Linked DNA regions of Homo sapiens: region 2 is linked to region 1. The links are contacts of gene promoters, found by promoter capture Hi-C in human tissues and cell types (Jung and others, 2019). All regions are on one chromosome and are shown on one strand. Each heading gives the region's core, a stretch centred on a gene start or on the middle of the fragment in contact. The rest is flanking DNA. Distances are from core to core; before and after follow the strand shown.

Region 1 (3,515 bases), core at 1,016-3,515:
AAATTTAGAAACCCGAAGACCAGATAATGAAGTTTCATGCCTTCCAGGAGGAAGAGCTGCTAAGGAGGTGAGAGGAGGGCAGAGAAACATCCTTGGGGGCGCCAGGACCAGGATGGCAGGAAGGGGTGTGGATGTTCTTGGCCACTCTCCTTCCATTTTGAGGGCCTTAATGAAGGAGGCAGCATCACAGTAATGGTCCCACAGCAGCTGCTCCATGGGTATTGCATGTGTGGGTGCATAAATGCATTAATCAAGAGTACTGGGGTCTGGGCAAGGTGGCTCACGCCTGTAGTCCTAGCACTTTGGGAGGCTGAGGCAGGCAGATCACATGAGACCAGGAGTTCGAGCCCAGCCTGTCCAACATGGTGAAACCCCATCTCTACTCAAAATACAAAAATTAGCCAGGCGTGGTGGCGGGCGCCTGTAGTGCCAGCTACTCGGGAGGCTGAGGCATGAGAATCACTTGAACCCAGGAGGCGGAGGCTGCAGTGAGCCAAGCCAGCCTGGGCGACAGAGCAAGACTCCATCTAAAAAAAAGAAAAAAAAAAGTCTGCAAGGATCTCACTGAATTTTAGTGAAAACCCTCTAAGGAGAGATTACCCCCATTTAACAGATGAGAAAAATAAGATTAATTTGCAAAAAATAAGTAGGGAAGCCTCCACTGTGGTTCTGAGGTGGAGGAGGGTCCTCTGTCTCTCAGTGGTGGTGGGAGTCGGTTCTGATTACAGGAAGGAAGAGTGGGTGTTTAGTTTTCTTTTCTTTTCTTTTCTTTTTTTTTTTGTGACGGAGTCTCGCTCTGTCGCCCAGGCTGGAGTGCAGTGGTGCGATCTCGGCTCACTGCAAGCTCCACCTCCCAGGTTCATGCCATTCTCCTGCCTCAGCTACTCGGGAAATAGCTGGGACTACAGGCAGCCGCCACCACGCCCAGCTAATTTTTTTTGTATTTTTAGTAGAGATGGGTTTTCACCGTGTTAGCCAGGATGGTCTTGATCTCCTGACCTCGTGATCCACCCGTCTCGGCCTCCCAAAGTGCTGGGATTACAGGTGTAAGCTACCACGCCCAGCCTTGTTTGCTTTTCTGAGACGGAGTCTCGCTGTGTTGCCCAGGCTGGAGTGCAGTGGTGCGATCTCGGCTCACTGCAACCTCCGCCTCCTGGGTTCAAGCGATTCTCCTGCCTCGGCCTCCCGAGTAACTGGGACTGCAAGCACCTGCCACCATGCCCGGTTAATTTTTGTATTTTGAGTAGAGACGGGGTTTCACTATATTAGCCAGACTGGTCTCAAACTCCTGTCCTAGAGTGATCCGCCCACCTCGACCTCTTAAAGTACTGGGATTACAGGCATGAGTCACTGTGCCCAGACTGGTTTTGTTTAGAATCCACCCCTTGTCCTGCCTCTCCCAGGGGTCTATGAGGAGCCCACTAATCTTTAATCCATGGCCCTAGGTTCAGGGGAGGGGGTTGGGCCAGGGCAGGCCATGGGAAGTGAAGTGGACTTGGGGGGAGTCAGAAAGCTTTGGTGTGGCCTCTTGTGCCCAAGACAACCCAGGAGGTTCATGGTCCTGAAGCCAATGTAATCTAGGGCCCAAACCTTCTAATCTCAGGGTGGGCAGAATCTAGGTGTAGAATGGGGTGAGTTCAGGGGGGCTCCACATAGACAGAGGGTGTGGGACCCTCACCTTGGCACTAGAAGAGTTCAGGCCTCCTCAAACAGATGGGGCTCAGGACAGCAGAGGGGACAGAGAGGGCTGCTCTGCCAGCATGTCCCAGAAGTGCATGTGGATATAGAGGGCAGCAGCTGCTGAGATGGCCGTGGGCATTAGGCTATGCTGGAGTGGGGACACCTCACCCCGACTATGCCAGCTCGCACCGGGCACTTTCACTTCCCTTAGTATAGGCTCCTTGCACTCTGCTACCCACAGTTTGCATCAGAAGAAATGGAAGAGACCTGCTTAAGGTCACATCACACACCCACTGGCAGAGCAGGGACTCTGCACAGGGTGGTCTAACTGCAAAGTCTGCCATCCTGCCATTCCCCTTGGGGCTGGAAAAGAAAGGTTTCTAACTTGCTTTCAAAGCGAGTTCCTATCAGCCCCGTTGTGGGCAAGGTGGGGCTGCTACCCGTTCTAGAGGGCCTGCTCAGTGGAGCTGGGGCCAAGCTGGGCCTCTCCAGTCGGCTGCGGGGGCGCACCCCCGGGCGCTGGGAGTCCAGGCCCGGTTTTGCATCAGGCCCTGCCGAGGTGTTTCCTCCTCCTCCGTGTGGGGCAGCTGCTGGCTGGGCTGCCTGTTGAGTCAGCCTTCTTCCCTCACGGCTCTTCTCCCGGTCCCTGAAACTCGGCTGCCAGGGGAGCTGGAGCCACCTGCGAAGGTGTCCTCCCATACTGGACCCCTACAGGTAACACGTGTCGGTGCCAGGGTCCCCTGCCAGGGTCCAGAGACGCAGGCACTGCCACCTGGTATCCTGAGCACCCTCCAGCACCTTGGGGTTGGGGGAGGTGGGCACATGTCTGGAACTGGAACAGCTGGACAGATGGACAGACCCTCCTCTTGACCAATGGGTCTGTCCCACCGTGTCAAAACAGCAGAGAAGACCAAACTCCTACCTAACTCTGGTAGGAGATTCTGCCTCTGGTTGGTAGGAGAGGGGACTTCAGGGAGGGGGCACTGCTGAGGACGCTGGGCTGATGCCCATGGCCCAGCTCAGGCAGGCCTGAAGGACAGAAATAGGCTCAGTTCTGCCGAACGTCCCCCCGGCCTCCATCCACACTCAGACACACACACCTGGTGGCCCCCAAGGCACCAGGGGACACCCCACAGCACACAGCCCAGTCACACATACAGCACAGGAGGAAATGCACAATGCATACTGTACACACCCCACACGGCGCTGTCACCTAGAAAGTCACTGAACACACCACACAGACAATATAGTCACCATGCAGCATCACACTGCAACAGGACACAAAGACACACAGCAACTACACAGCTCACAGACTCACGCAACGCAGACATGCCCACCAGACTCGGACCCACACAGCCACACAACAGGGCACAGAGAGGGACGTGGGCTCACACCCCAATCCACAGGGGAGGCCGAACGTGGGCTCACACCCCAATCCACAGGGGAGGCCGAACGTGGGCTCACACGTTGGCCACAGAAGTCCAGGGAAACTGCTGTTGTGGAGCACACAGGTATCCACAGAGTGAATGCACACCGTGCAGCCGTGCTGAGGCCTTCTGCTCCTGAGGGTGTCAAGAGGGATCGCTGGGGCTCGGCCACTGACTCAGCTGGGAGGGGACAGAGCATAGCAGGCGGCGGACACAAGCCAGGACCTGCCCGCCAAGCTGCCTCCGCCGGTCTCAGCCCCACCTGGAGCCGTGGCAATGGAAGGGGCGGGGAAGAGAGGAGAGGCCGCCCAGTGGGCTCAGGACACAGCCCTGACCAAGTCATGGGCCCCTTGCCACGTCTACATGCCCCTCAGCGCTGGGCAAATGCTTTCTTTCCGGAGTCACTGT
Region 2 (3,515 bases), core at 372-2,871, 420 kb after region 1:
GAACCAAGTTTCAAGCCCTAGAGCTTCCTGTTGTTTTCCACCTCTAGAATTGTTCATCTCTTTCTGACCCTCCACATTGTCTGCCTTAGCATCTGCACTTACTCTGCATGAAAAATAGCTTATATCCTGTTTGAAACATCCTTCTTGCACTGATTTTTTTTTTCTTTAGGCCAAAAACCGAGAGCTCCTGAAGCAGGCAGCTGCTTTGTCCAAGAGCAAGAAGTCAGAGAAGTCAGGAGCTATAACCTCTCCATGACAGACCTCAAGGAGGCTCCCTAGCAACAGCAAATGGAGTTGTCCAGGGTTAGGGTTGGAGACCTGGCTGTTCTGTGGGAATTGCAAGCTTTCTTAAGAAATCTCTATTTTATTACAGTTATCCTTCTTTGTGCGATTGCAGTGGGCTGAATGGAAACACCTGGTTTGTGCTGTGTTAGACTGCATGCTTGAGTGTTTGGGATTTCAAGCTCGCTCTCTTTCTCTCACTATTAGGACTTTTCTTTTTCTTCTTCCTCTTCTCTCTATTTTGGTTCTATTCTTTTTTTTTCTTTTTTCTTTTTTTTTTTTTTTTTTTTTTTGTGGTGGTCACTGCTCAGTGTAATGTGCAGAATGATTTGTTTTTTGTTTTTTTTTTTTTTTTTGGTCCTTCATTGCATCCTGCCATACCCATGAGCAAACAGTTTGGCATTAATTATATATCACTGCCACCCTCTGAACTTTGAAAACTGCCATCTTCAGACTTGGTATAATGGAAGAGGCTTTCTCTCTCCAATAAACCTTTTGCTTCAGGGTATACTCTTCGGTTTTTTTCCAGATGTATTATGTATGAACTTTGTACTATGTATAGCCAGAGTTTTATTTATTTTTTAAAAAAGAAACTTTTTCTTGATAAAGGAATAATGGTGGTCTAGCTAGTTCTTGTAAAAGTGATGCCTCTTGAAAAAAAAACAGTCCTATTCACTAGCTTTTAGTAAAAGAATCAGATCTTTTCTTTCTTGTTACCTTGGAGTCTTAAAAACTGATTGCTAAGGTGAAACAATTCAATGCATAAGTATGGAGCTAAGTGCCTTTTGGAGGATTTCTTGGAAGAGCATTTATGGAGATACTTAAGGGAGGTAGCAAAGATTTGAACCGTCTGTCTTTTTAAGTAAGGGCAGAAAGCAAGGTTGTCCAGGTTGTACTGGACACTTCTCTCCCCACCCCTTTCCTGATTGTTTTATGTGATTGATTTTAAATTCTCACACTGCCACTTCTTTAAAAAATAAAATCCTTTATTTGCTTATATCAGTTGTCATACTGGGCTGCTGTCAGAGAATGTTTTTTTACATGAATGAACAGATTAAAAATGGAATAATATGGTCGGGTGCGGTGGCTCACGCCTGTAATACCAGCAATTTGGGAGGCCAAGGCGGGTGGATCATTTGAGGTTAGGAGTTTGAGACCATCCTGGCCAACATGGTAAAACCCCATCTGTACTAAAAAAATACAAAAATTAGCCGGGCCTGGTGGCATGCACCTGTAATCCCAGCTACCCAGGAGGCTGAGGCAGGAGAACTGCTCGAATCCCGGGAGGCAGAGGTTGCAATGAGCTGAAATCGCAACACTGCACTGCAGCCTGGGCAATGGAGTGAGACTCCGTCTCAAAAAAAAAAAAAAAAGGAATAATATTTGAACTACAGAGCATTTTTGGGGTCAGCATGAGCTGCTCTAGTAAGGACTCTTGAGTCTGGGAAAAGTGGTATCACTATACCTTCTCCCCACTCCTCACCCACCCGAGCCCATACACTCCCTGCTTTTCATGGATATGTATTGAAAACAGGTGCTTCTCAGAAGCACTTTGCCTCAACCAGAGTTATGTATGCCCTGCCTATCTTCCCTTCTTAACCCTGTAGGAATATGGATTTACTTTTCCAGGAAAGGGGATAGATTTACATTTCTAGGCATACTCTCAGGTCCTCTATGTGATGTTTGTGAAAGGAATTAGGGTGTGTCATGTGTGCCATGAAACAACAAAACCAACTACCCTAGAATCATTTATGCAGGGGGTACTAGAGTTAGAAATAATAATGAGGGCAGATAACATTTGTACCTCAGTCTACCAAAAAATTATAGTACTAAATTTAACTTCTAGGCGTTTCCTGGAAGCAGATGCTCTATAATTTGTGATAGCATTCTCATAAATGGAGTCCTACACATAATTGGACAGAGATGTGGAAATGGTGGTTTCCTTCTGATAAGGGATACAGTGGACCATGTCGCTTATATATCACCCTACTAGGGGATATAATTTTCCCTTCTAAGCAAGGGAAATGGCAGTGCTAAATAGTTTTGTAAAGTTTTTGAATGAGAAGCTTTTAGGTAAAGATAAACTGTCATAATATTTTTCAGATGCATTTGCATTGACTATGGGAGAAAAATTAGGGGGAAATGACAGTCATGGTGTTTTTTTTTAATTTTAAGGACTGAAATTCTGTTACATGATGTATGACAATATAAAAACATACTTAGTTTTATACTAAATCTTTTTTTAAGGTCTTGGCATTTAATATAAAGCAAATTCACACGTTTTCTAACTTTCCATAAGTTCCAAAAAGGGAAAGAAGAAACCTCAGTCTTGAAATTTTGATTTTTAAAAATCATGACACTGTTTTACCATGAAATTGAGTAGCTAACTTTTGGTAACACCTTTTGTTTCTTTGTATGTTTGTAATAATGGACATTTTAAAACACAGGAATGTTTTGGTTTGTACAGACTTTGACAAATGTGTGTTAATAAAAATTCATATTGACTCAAGTGTAATTGTTGGATTTTGTTTTTATTTCTTGCTGTTTACCAGTAGACATACCCCGTTATCCCCTTCAGCCCTTCAGCCTAGAAAAGTTTGTCTTGCTTATAGACTTAAAAAATTAAAAGCCTAACTGCTAATTGGGAATTTCCTGTCCATTAGAGAATAAACTCTTTCTTTCTCTCTTCTATGACTGTTTTGAGACAGAGTCTCACTCAGTCATCCAGGCTGGAGTACAGTGGCAAGTAGATCACTGCAGCCCCGACTTCCTGGGGATTCTCCCACCTCAGCCTCCCAAGTAGCTGGGACTACAGATGCACGCCACCATACCCAGCTAATTTTTGTATTTTTTGTGAAGATAGGGTTTTGCCATCCAGGCTGGTCTCCAACTCCTGGACTCAAGCCATCCACCCACCTCATCAGCCTCCCAAAGTGCTAGGATTACAGGCATGAGCTACCACACCCAGCCTCTTGGTGATTCTGTTTACCCAGTGTAAGTGCTCATGTTGTGATAGGCACTGTGCTAGGCAGCGCGGTTACAGCAGTGACAAAACCAAGTTATTGTACTTATGGGGCTTCCATTTAGTGGAATATTGGACACCACCACACCACCATTGTTCCTTGATTTAAAAAAAACTTTTTTTTTTTTTAATGGAGTCATGCTCTGTCACCCAGGCTGGAGTGCAGTGGCATGATCTCGGCTCACTGCAACCTCTGCCTTCTGGGATCAAG

What was found. The method cuts DNA at HindIII sites, captures the fragments that hold promoters and counts their contacts. A contact is called where the count stands out against the background at its distance.
Region 2: a contact is called between a fragment that was not itself captured here and the fragment with the promoter of SYTL1 in region 1, in 1 of the 25 tissues and cell types used here (dorsolateral prefrontal cortex).

Annotation. Positions count from the first base shown.
Region 1 is chr1:27,339,757-27,343,271 of GRCh38, forward strand. SYTL1 (synaptotagmin like 1) reads left to right here and starts at 2,266. Exons shown (of 15, transcript NM_001193308.2): 1 at 2,266-2,394. RefSeq lists enhancers at 1,887-2,146, 2,677-2,726, 2,901-3,515. The HindIII fragment of the contact is 14,194 bases long and covers 1-3,515 here.
Region 2 is chr1:27,760,326-27,763,840 of GRCh38, forward strand. It overlaps FAM76A (family with sequence similarity 76 member A), which reads left to right. Exons shown (of 9, transcript NM_152660.3): 9 at 170-2,791. The coding sequence ends at 256. Among named protein-coding and RNA genes, the nearest start is that of STX12, 11 kb to the right of the region's middle. The HindIII fragment of the contact is 6,157 bases long and covers 1-3,515 here.